4 separate regions of the Homo sapiens genome follow, and regions 1, 3 and 4 are each linked to region 2. The links are contacts of gene promoters, found by promoter capture Hi-C in blood cells and fetal thymus (Javierre and others, 2016). All regions are on one chromosome and are shown on one strand. The core of a region is centred on a gene start or on the middle of the fragment in contact, and the rest is flanking DNA. Distances in the headings are between cores, read along the strand shown.

Region 1 (2,700 bases), core at 4-2,503, 160 kb after region 2:
TCCTTCAGACCCAGGAGTTCAGCACCCCTGCCCCTCCTCCCTCAGACCCAGGAGTCCAGACCCCAGACCCTCTTCCTTCATACTCAGGAGTCCAGGCCCCCAGGCCCTCCTCCCTCAGACCTGAAAGTCCAGGACCGCAGTCCCTCCTCCCTCAAACCCAAAAGTCCAGGACCCCAGTCCCCTCCTCCCTCAGACCCAGAAGTCCAGACCCCCAGCCCCTCCTCCCTCAGACCCTGGAGTCCAGGCCCCCAAGCCCTTCTCCTTCAGACCCAGGAGTGCAGGCCACCAGCCTCTCCTCCCTCAGACTCCGGAGTCCAAGCACAGCCCCTCCTCCCTGAAACCCAGGAGTCCAGACCCCCAGGCCCTCCTCCCTGAAACCCAGGAGTCCAGGCCCCCAGGCCCTCCTCCCTCAGACCTAGGAGTCCAGTGCCCAGCCCCTCCTCCCTCAGACCCAGGAGTCCAGGCCCCCAGCCCCTCTCCTCCAGGACCTGAGTCTGCGCCCCCCACCCCCTCCATCCAGGGACCCAGGAGTCTGAATCCCAAGTCCCTTCTCTATGAGGGGCCCAGGGGTCTGGGCAGCCAGCCCCTGCCATTTGAATACCCTGAGTCCCGCCTCTGCCGCCACCTCCACCCTGCCCCCCGCCCCAGGTGTCCCCTTCTGCTAGGCTCACCTGTCTGTCCTTTGCCCAGCGTCTTCTCCAGCCGATAGGGGCCCACATATTGGGCGTGCTGGGGTGGGTGGGGGTGGGGGTGGGGGAGGTGGTAGGCGGGAGAGCCCCCACCTCCCTCCTTGGCCCCGGACGACATGGTGCCCTTGGTCCCGGCCCGACCGGTCCCCCGGCCGCCCCCCCTGCGGCCGTCGCCCCGTCTCTCCGGTGGGGGCCGGCGACCGCTCCGTCCCGGCCCCCCCGGCTGCCCCCCACCTCTCCGGGGGTCCCCAGGGGGCTGGGCTGGCCCCCCCCAGTCGGCGGGCCGCGGAGCTGGGGGAGGGGGGGCTGGCCCGGGGGGGTCAGGCCCCGGGAGTCAGCATGGCCCAGGGGGGCTGCGGGGCCCCCCCTCCCCAGCCCGTTTCTGGCCGGCCCCCCGCTTCCTGCGCCTCCCCCCGCCGGGGGGGTCTGAGGTGCGGGCCGGCGGATGCTGCAGGCCGAGGTCCCCCCCGCCCCCCCACGCGCCCTCTCTCCTCCGCCTCCTCCTCCTCTCCGCCTCCCCCCGCCACCTCGTCCTTTCTCTCCGGCACGCTGACATCACCATCCGGGGACTCCGGGCCCTTCCCCAAAGTTAACCCTTTCGGAGGGGGGAGGGGGAGCGAGGGGGGGCAGGGGGCGGGCCTCCAGCTGGAGGGATGGAGAGGAGGTGGGAGGATGCAGGAGAGAGGATGGAGGGAAGGATGGAGAGAGAGAGAGAGGACCCAACAGATGGGGCAGAGATGGAGATACACAAAGAGAGATGCTGGCTGACACAGAGACGGGAGACAGGCAGAGACGCCAGAGGGATGGAGACCACCAGAGACAGGCTGAGGCAGAGAGGGAGGAAGGGCAGAGATGGACAGGGACAGAAGAGAAGGAAGGAATGGCAAGCCGGGAAAACAGACAGGGAGAGGGAGAGAAAGCTGCTGGAAGCCGACAGAGGGATGGAGAGAGTCAGAGATTCAGAGAGACAGAGAGAGGAAGACCAACCAGAGAGGTGGGGGAGAGGGGGCGCAGATGGAGCTGTAGAGAGGGCCGGGGGTACACACAGGTGGAGGGACACGTGCTGGGGAGAGGTGGGGACATATGGAGGGAGACAGAGACAGAGAGGGGAAAGAATTCTTGGAGTTGCTGACCCAAAATTCATGTCTGTTTCCCCAGCCCCCTAAGGCCACCCATTCAGGGTAAGGGTAAGTCTGTGTCCCCACCAATGTCAAGGCCCCATATCTACCCACAGCCCAGAGTGATTTTGGATTCTCTTTACAGAGAAGCTTCCAGAACCCCCTCAGTTTCCCTGTGTTATGTTTTTAGACCCCCATATATTCTCTGTGCTCGTCATAGGGTCCTTTATATCTTCATGTGGACCCCAGTACAGCCCATACATCCCCACTGTAGCAGGTCCACAAGCATGTGCTCTGCCTGTGAGTAACCCGCCTGCCCCCATTAGCTTTCCGCATAAACCATAGATCCCTCTATGTCATGTACCCGCAAGTGTTAGACACCCATTTAATTCTCAAGTCCCCTGTAAAGCACACCCAGGGCTGGGCAAGGTGGCTCATGCCTGTAATCCCAATACTTTGGGAGACAGAGGTGGGAAGATCAGCCTGGGCAACACAGTGAGACCCCATCCCTACAAAAATTTTTTTAAAAATTAGCCGGGCATGGTGGCATGTGCCTGTAGTCCCAGCTACTTGGGAGGCTGAGGCTTGAGTCAGTGAGTTCTAGGCTGCAGTGAGCTACGTTTGCACCACTGCACTCCAGCCTGAGCAACAGAGTGAGGCCCTGTCTCTAACAAAAATAAAATAAAATAAAGTGCACACAGGAGCCTATTGGCTCCTGTGAGATTTCCCAGTCCCCCATTCAACACCTTGAGTCCACACATCTTTAATGAGTGCCAAATCTCAGCCAGGCACTGTTCCTGTTGGTAAGAACGTGGCAGTGACCTAAATCAGCAAAAAGGCCTGTCCTGTGGAGCTTCCATGCTGGTGGATGAAACAGATGATCAGCAAGGTCA
Region 2 (2,700 bases), core at 111-2,610:
TCCTTCCCACCTCTATCATCCCTCTAGGTCCACGGGGGTGGGCGTGTCTGGGACTTGGCTGGACTGTTGCCATAGAAACAGCTGGAAGACGTGCCCACCACCACCACCACCAACTCCCACCTCTCTTCTGCATCACCTTTTCTCTCTCTTTTGAGACAGGGTCTCACTCTGTCAACTCAGGCTGGAGTGCGGTGGTGAAATCACAGCTCCCAGCAGCCTTGATCTCTGGGACTCAAGTTATCCTCCCACCTCAGCGTCCTGAGTACCTGGGACTATAGGTGCGCACGACCACGCCGGGCTAATTTTTTTTTTTTTTTTTTTTGTAAAGACACGGTTTTGCTGTGTTGGCGAGGCTGGCTGGTCTCCTGCTTGAGCAATTTGCCCACCTTGGCCTCCCAGAGTGCTGGGATTTACAGGCGTGAGCCGCCGCACCCGGACGACCCTTTCTCAGCCTGTATCTCCCTTCTGAAATAGCAGCAGCAGCAAACACTTTCATATTTCACCTGCAATATGCCAGGCACTGTTCTAAGCTCTTTACACATATTCCCTCAGTTCATCCTCCTGACCACTCAGAGATAACCATCCTTATCCCCATTTTACAGATGGGGGACTTGGGGCACAGGGAGCTTAGATAAGAGCCTGTCAGTGTCAGGCAGCTGGCAGGAGGTCCAGTCGGCAGGGGAACCACCCTGCTGTGGTTGTGGTTCAGCTGTGGACAGAGACCCTTCAAACCCGACGCCGTAACAGTGGTGTGTGTGTGCGTGTGCATGCCAGGGAGAGAGAGAGAGAGAGGGAGAGAGAGGGAGGGAGGGAGGGCACCTAAGATCCCTTGATTATCAGATCTAACTAAGGGAGAGAAATTGGCATTTCGGGGCACTGAGGACCATAGGGGTGTAAGTCAGTGGTTCTCCACGGGGGCAGCTGTGGCCTCCTCCCACCAGGGGAACATTTGGCAATGCCTGGAAACATCTTACATTGTCACAACTCGGGGGAATGTGGTGCTGCTGGCATGGAGAGGGCGCTGCTAAACATCCTACAGCGCTCAGGACAGGCGCTCACCACAAAGCAGCATCGGTCCCCGAATGTCAGTGTTGAAAAACCGTGCACTGCCTCTTCCCACTTGCCTGGTCTATAAACTCAAATTCTCAACTTCTCTCTCTCCTCCTCCCTCCCTCTCCTCCCCCTCCTCCTCCTCCCCTTCTTTTCTCCCTCCTTCCCCGTCTCCCTGACTCCTCCTTTCCCACCCACCCCTCATCTGTCTCGCTTCCTTCCCTCCCTCCGCGGTCCCCACTCCCCTCGCCACCCTCCCCTCCCCTTCGCGCGCCTCCCTCCAGCTGCCTCCCCTGCCCTCTCCTCTTCGCCGCCCCCGTTTCTTCTCCTTACATCGCGCCTCGCCTCGCTCCTCGTCCTAATGTCTGCACACCCCTCTGGTGTCTGTCGACCCTCCCAATCGCTTCTCCCGCATTCATCTCTCGCCTGATCCCGGTTCTGTCCGCCCATGCTCATTTCTCTCCCCCAGCCGTGCCCGGGCGCGTTTCCATTACTCTCCCATCGTCGCCCACCGCGCGTGGGGCGGCCAACTTGGGCCCACGCAGCTCAGCTCCCTCCGCCCTTCCTGCCTCCTGGCGCCTGTTGCTCCCCACACTCTGCCGCCCCCCGCCCGCCCTCCCCAGCCTCTCTGCCCACCCATCTCTACGTTTCTCACCCTCTGACCGTTTCTCTCCCGCCCAGCGCTCCAACCTCTGCTCTCGTTCTCCCCGCAGCCTGGCGGCCCAGTGCGACCCCCTGCAAGCCCCATGCCGGCCCTCCTGCTCCTCGTACTCCTGGCCTCTAGCGCCGGCCAGGCCAGGGCGCGCCCGTCCAACGCCACGAGCGCCGAGCCCGCGGGCCCGCTGCCCGCCCTGCTGGCGCACCTGCGGCGCCTGACCGGGGCGCTGACGGGCGGCGGGGGCGCGGCGAGCCCAGGCGCCAACGGCACCAGGACCGGCCCCGCGGGCGGGGCGGGCGCGGCGGCCCGGGCGCCCCCTCCCGCCGAGCTCTGCCACGGCTACTACGATGTCATGGGCCAGTACGACGCCACCTTCAACTGCAGCACCGGCTCCTACCGCTTCTGCTGTGGCACCTGCCACTACCGCTTCTGCTGTGAGCACCGTCACATGCGCCTGGCGCAGGCCTCCTGCTCCAACTACGACACGCCGCGCTGGGCCACCACGCCGCCGCCGCTAGCTGGGGGCGCCGGGGGCGCTGGGGGTGCGGGCGGGGGGCCAGGGCCCGGCCAGGCCGGGTGGTTGGAAGGGGGCCGGACTGGGGGTGCCGGGGGCCGCGGGGGCGAGGGCCCCGGGGGCAGCACAGCCTACGTCGTGTGCGGGGTCATCAGCTTCGCCCTGGCCGTGGGCGTCGGCGCCAAAGTGGCCTTCAGCAAGGCGTCCCGTGCGCCCCGGGCGCACCGGGATATCAACGTGCCCAGGTGCGTGTGCTCTCGGGCGGGAGGACTGCGAGCCTGGGGCGGGGCCCAGCAAGGGAGGTGGAGCCATCCGAGGAGGAGGGGCTGCAGGGATAGGGCGTGGTGGTCAGAGACCCAGGTGGCGGCCGCCGGCGTAGCTGAAGGTGGGCAGGGGCTGAGAAAGTCGCGCCAGAGCCGGCCCGGCTGTTGCGGAGTGATGCAGGGAGAGGGAGAAGCCCAGACTCTCATTCATTCGA
Region 3 (2,700 bases), core at 121-2,620, 200 kb after region 2:
AGGCCATCTAGGCTCACTCCGCCTTCGACCCTGCCCTGCTGCAGGTCCGAGTCCGTGACCGTGAACAGCTTCTTCAGCAGTGTGGATGGGCAGCTGGAGCTCCTGGCCCAGGGGGCCCTGGAAAGCACTGTGTCCAGTGTGGGCGCCTTGCACGCCCTACGCCCGCGGCTCAGCTGCTTCCACCAGCTCCTGCTGGAGCCTCCCAAGGTCAGGGGTGTGGGTTCTGGTCCTCGGGGAGGCGGGGGAAGCAGGAAGGGCAGCCCTTGGGAATCAGGCCTCCCTGTGTCTGCAGCTGGAGCCGCTACAGATGACATGGGGCATGCTGGCTCCGCCTCTGGGCAACACGCGGCTGCACGTGGTCAAGCTCCTGGCCAGTGCCCTGAGCGCCAATGATGCAGCCCTGACGCACGAGCTCCTGGCACTGGACGTGCCCAACACCATGCTGGTGCGGGGACTGGACCGGGCTGGGGGTTCAGGGGCTGGGGCGGGGACTGGACTGGGCTGAGGGTTCGGGGGCTGGGGTGGGGGCTCGGCTGGGGGCTCAGGGGTTGGGGGCTCGGCTGGGGCGGGGCCTCTCTGGTACCAATCCTGTGTCCTCCCATAGGACCTCTTCTTCCATTATGTCTTCAACAACTTCTTGCATGCCCAAGTAGAGGGATGCGTGAGCACCATGCTGAGCTTGGGGCCACCTCCTGACAGCAGCCCTGAGACGCCCATCCAAAACCCTGTTGTGAAACATGTGAGCTGGGACTCCCTGGTCCCCCTCCTTCTGGGCCCATCCCCTGTGGGCGCACCCTCTCCAGAGGCCTACCCCTCACTCCTTCCTCCCACAAGTGTTTGTTGGGTAGTGTTAGGTGCCAGCGCCCAGATGGGGTGTGGGAGGCATGGCCAGGGAGAAACGCGGATGAAACATGCAGGTGCAGGGAGCAGTGGGCTCCTGACTTGAGCTGAAGAGCTAGGGGTGGGCGGGAGCAGACCTGCGAGCAGCTGAGTGTGCATGAGTGCGCACACGTGCGTGTGTGAGCATGTGTCAGTGCAAGCGTGTGTGAGAGCATGTATGTGTGTGAGTGCACACGAGTATGTGAACATGTATGTGTGAGCATGTGTGTGTCCGTTAGTGCATGCATGTGTGTGTGTGTGTGTGTGTGTGTGTGTGTGTGTGTGTGTGTATGCACCACATATTCTTTTGTAGAAAGACCAGAGAGACTTGGGTGGATGCCAGGGTCCCAAGCCCCAGCTTGCATCCCTCCTTCCCATCCCCGTCTCTGGATGAGCGGGGGCCTGGTGAAGCATCTGCTGAGGAAGGGACCCCTGCTGCAGTGCAGAGCTCCCCACATGTGTGCAGACCACCCCTCCAGGCCATCCTGTCCCGCTCTCCCGCAGCTGCTGCAGCAGTGCCGCCTGGTGGAGCGGATCCTGACGTCCTGGGAGGAGAACGACCGTGTACAGTGAGCACCTGCTGCCCTTCATGTCTCCAGGGGCTGGGGCTGCCTGGATGGGGGGCCGGGCTGGGGCTGGGCATCCCTGGGTCCAGTCCTGGCTTGCAGCCGCGGCCTTCACTCTTGCCAGGTGTGCGGGAGGCCCTCGGAAAGGCTACATGGGTCACCTGACAAGAGTGGCCGGTGCCCTGGTGCAGAACACGGAGAAGGGGCCCAATGCAGAGCAGCTGCGGCAGCTGCTGAAGGGTGAGGGTCCCCAGGCCGGCCTGAGGGCTAGGTGGGGGGCTTGAAGCCCCGAGATGCCTCACGTCTTCACCCCTCTCACCTAAGCAGAGCTGCCCAGCGAGCAGCAGGAGCAGTGGGAAGCCTTCGTATCGGGGCCCCTGGCGGAGACCAACAAGAAGAACATGGTGGACCTGGTGAGGCCCAGCTTCTCTTCCTGCACTCCTCCTGCTGCTTCTCTCTCTTGGGCCAGTCTTAGCCTCCCACCGCCACCGATAGCTGCCTGCCCACCCTGGTCTGGGGGCTCCAGCAGGCCCTGACGCCCCCTCCTCTCCCCAGGTGAACACCCACCACCTACACTCCTCCAGTGACGATGAGGACGACCGGCTCAAGGAGTTCAACTTCCCTGAGGAGGCTGTGCTGCAGCAGGTGGGCGTGGGGCTATGTGGGGCTGTGCTGGGCTATGCTGGAGTGGGGTCCTGCCCAACTCCCTCCAGCCCTAACCTCCGCACCCCCACAGGCCTTCATGGACTTCCAGATGCAGCGCATGACCTCTGCCTTCATTGACCACTTCGGCTTCAATGATGAGGAGTTTGGGGAGCAGGAGGAGAGTGTGAAGTGAGTGTCTCCTGCGCAGGGTCACAGCCCTGTCCTGCCTCTGCAGCAGCAGGCGCGCCTACTTGTATCTGTCCCCTGCACGCACCTACATGCCCTGTGGGCTCAGCCTGCAGCTGTGGCCCCTCCTGGGCACGCGTTGGCCGTGGCCTTGTGTGTGTGTCTGCAGCCTCGTGTGTCTGCCTCCTGTTACATGAGTTCCAGCTCTGCAGTCTCTTCTCTCCGAGAGGCAGGCCATGAGGGTGGGGCACAAACATCTTCTGTGCTGGGGACACAGAGCGGGTCCCTCCCACTCCTGGAGCTAGCCTTAGGGGTTCCAGGCGGGAGGGGCTCAGGGTAGTGGGGACCAGCAGTCCTGGCGCAGGGACTGTGGGGCAGAGCTGCACCTCCATGGATGCCCTCTGGCTCAGGAGTCTGCCAGACA
Region 4 (2,700 bases), core at 160-2,659, 180 kb before region 2:
GTAAGCCTGACCATAGGATCTTGACTCCAACAGCGGCAACCCCCACCCCCATTGTGGTCCGTCCTTAACCCATCCACTCTTCTTCGGAGGCAACTGAGAACACATAAAGCAAGCAGCTACCTAGCATCCCCCTCCTAAAGCTTTAGACTCAGAGCCCAGGGTCCCCCACAAGCCTCAAGGTAGCCTCAGGTTTCTCTAATTTCCTCCACTCCCAGTTCGAAGCAAACAGCTTACTGCCTAGTCCCCGCCAATCCCAAGGGCGGGCTGGCTGATGGCAGCATGGTGGGCTGGCCTGGGTGTGGAGTGAAAGAGTCACTGTGGTGGGGGCGAGAGGAGGACTTGGGAGCTGGAGGTGTGACACCTTCAGTTCTGTTCCTATTAAAGGACCTTCTGAAGGGCTTCTCTGTCGGTCTTGTATTCGGATTGTCCGCTTTGGGGAGTTGGGGGAGGAGGGGCCTCACCATGGTTTTGCCACCAGCAGTCAGTTGCATCATCTCTTCCTCCAAGCTTCTGTTTCCCCATCATCAGAATGGGGGGTGAGTAGGCCCCACTGTGGTTACGTGTTATGTGGTTCAGCTGTAGGAGAGGGGGGTCAGGGAAGTTTGGCAAAAGCACACTCAACATGCTTTGCATGCTTGTTGAGTGAGAGCCTCTGATTTGCACACCTTTCTGTTCACCCAGTGGGCCCCATGAGATAACTCACAGGCAACTCACAATGTGAACAGAACTCATTCCATTTTCCTCAAAGAAACCTCCATGCTTCTGATGTCATTGGCACCACCACCCAAGCTGGATACCTGGGCAGGTTTAAACCTTCTTCATCCTCATTCTTATGTCCAGTCCCTTATCAGTTTCCCTCAGTTGAGCCAGTTAATATCTTTGGAACTGGAACGTGTTTTCGGCATCACTACACTTGTAGACCAACAGTGGTCTCACACACAGACAACTGCACAGCAGTCCAGTGCCTGCATTTTTTTTTTTTTTTTTTTTTTTTTTTTTTTTTTTTTTTTTTTTTGAGATGGAGTTTTGCTCTTGTTGCCCAGGCTGGAGTCCAATGGCACAATCTCTGCTCACTGCAACCTCTGCCTCCTGGATTCAAGCACTTCTGCCTCAGCCTCCTGAGTAGCTAGGATTACAGGTGGGCGCCATCACGCTCAGTTCATTTTTGTATTTTTAGTAGAGATGGGGTTTCATCATGTTGGCCAGGCTGGTCTCAAATTCCTTACCTCAGGTGATCTACTCGCCTCGGCCTCCCAAAGTGTTGGGATTACAGGCGTGAGCCACTGCACCCGGCCACCTGCCCTCTTCATTCTCCATATGGCATCCATGCAGATCCTTGTCACCAAGACACAGCTCCTTGTGGCTTTGAGACGATTTGGAAATGTGAATGCCTACAGGAGCTGGGTGAAAATGTAAATACACGAGCAAGACGGCCAGGTTCAAGGGGAAAATATCAGCAACATGAAATAATGGCGATTGCCACCAGGTCTCAGAATTGGTATTCAACAAATTGGAGAGTGCCTCTTCAGAAGAGGGTAATGGCTGCTCAGCTCCGGAACACAGATTGGGTTGCCACATCTTCCAGTTTCTTTCAGAAGTTCCATTAGTTCACATTATGTAAAATCTTTTGATTTCCCAATGTTGGCAGTCAAGTCAAACTTTTTAAAAAATGCACAGACTAAACAAAAATGTGTTAGTGGTCATATTCGGCCTTGCAGCTGCCAGTTTCCAGCCTCTAGCCTATAAAATCACCCAAGCCCCACAGTTTGGAATTCAAGACCCTTCAGGGTTTAGCCCCCAGGAACCCAACCTCCAGCCATACTAATCTGTCTTAAATGCTCCAGAATAGCAGGGTTTAGTTCAACACACTAAACTCTCCGCCTGGAAATCTTTGCCACTTCTTTTTTTTTTTTTTTTTCTTATTTATTTATTTTTTTGAGACAGAGCCTTGCTCTGTCGCCCAGGATGGAGTGCAGTGGCATGATCTCGGCTCACTGCAAGCTCCGCCTTCTGGGTTCATGCCATTCTCCTGCCTCAGCCTCCCGTGTAGCTGGGACTACAGGCGCCTGCCACCTGCTCCCACCACCACACCCGGCTGATTTTTTGTATTTTTAGTAGAGACAGGGTTTCACCGTGTTAGCCAGGATGGTCTGGAGCTCCTGACCTCGTGATCCACCTGCCTCGGCCTCCCAAAGTGCTAGGATTACAGGCATGAGCCACCGTGCCCGGCCTCTTTGCCACTTCTTTACCTGGAAAACTCCAGTTGGTTTATGTCATCGTTCAGGGATCACCTTCTCCCCAAGAAGCTTTTCTAGCCCCCCTTCCACTCTGACAGGTGACTCCTCTGTGCTCCCTCAAGCCCTAGTGATACTTCCAAGTCCCTTACACTGTGAGGCTCCATTTCCATGTTACTGCTGAACCCTGAACCCTGGGGGCACTGGCACAACGTCTGTCTCATGCTGGGTCTTCAGCATTAGAACATGGAGCCACACAGGGTAGCTGCTCTCCCATGGGTCACACAGGACTCACCCAAGCAGCGCTCTTACCTAGTTTCATCTTCAAGTTTCTTTTTTTCCTTTTTTTTTTTTTTTTTTTTTTTTGAGATGGAATCTCGCTCTTGTCGCCTAGGCCGGAGTGCAGTGGCGCAATCTCAGCTCACTGCAACCTCCACCTCCTGGGTTCAAGTGATTCTCCTGCCTC

The links. Contacts are between HindIII fragments. The CHiCAGO score rates a contact against its expected background, and 5 or more counts as called.
Region 1: a contact is called between the fragment with the promoter of BRSK1 here and the fragment with the promoter of SHISA7 in region 2, in 13 of 17 cell types (M1 macrophages, M2 macrophages, M0 macrophages and 10 more). The highest score is 11.7, in M1 macrophages.
Region 3: a fragment that was not itself captured here is called in contact with the fragment with the promoter of SHISA7 in region 2 in 4 of 17 cell types (activated CD4 T cells, M1 macrophages, erythroblasts and 1 more); the score reaches 7.7 in activated CD4 T cells.
Region 4: a fragment that was not itself captured here is called in contact with the fragment with the promoter of SHISA7 in region 2 in 3 of 17 cell types (non-activated CD4 T cells, total CD8 T cells and naive CD8 T cells); the score reaches 5.7 in non-activated CD4 T cells.

The regions. Positions count from the first base shown.
Region 1 is chr19:55,282,550-55,285,249 of GRCh38, reverse strand. BRSK1 (BR serine/threonine kinase 1) reads right to left here and starts at 1,253. Exons shown (of 19, transcript NM_032430.2): 1 at 672-1,253. The coding sequence starts at 807. The HindIII fragment of the contact is 8,428 bases long and covers 1-1,959 here.
Region 2 is chr19:55,441,960-55,444,659 of GRCh38, reverse strand. It overlaps SHISA7 (shisa family member 7), which reads left to right and starts at 1,360. Exons shown (of 4, transcript NM_001145176.2): 1 at 1,360-2,467. The coding sequence starts at 1,797. RefSeq lists a silencer at 2,457-2,546 and an enhancer at 2,040-2,668. The HindIII fragment of the contact is 48,275 bases long and covers 1-2,700 here.
Region 3 is chr19:55,238,984-55,241,683 of GRCh38, reverse strand. PPP6R1 (protein phosphatase 6 regulatory subunit 1) reads left to right here. Exons shown (of 24, transcript NM_014931.4): 8 at 45-207; 9 at 293-445; 10 at 605-739; 11 at 1,384-1,448; 12 at 1,570-1,685; 13 at 1,773-1,858; 14 at 2,001-2,090; 15 at 2,182-2,279. It overlaps MIR6802 (microRNA 6802), which reads left to right and starts at 1,708; the gene lies at 1,708-1,772. The HindIII fragment of the contact is 7,408 bases long and covers 1-2,700 here.
Region 4 is chr19:55,618,440-55,621,139 of GRCh38, reverse strand. It overlaps ZNF784 (zinc finger protein 784), which reads left to right. Exons shown (of 2, transcript NM_203374.2): 2 at 1-399. Among named protein-coding and RNA genes, the nearest start is that of ZNF784, 4.8 kb to the left of the region's middle. The HindIII fragment of the contact is 1,799 bases long and covers 510-2,308 here.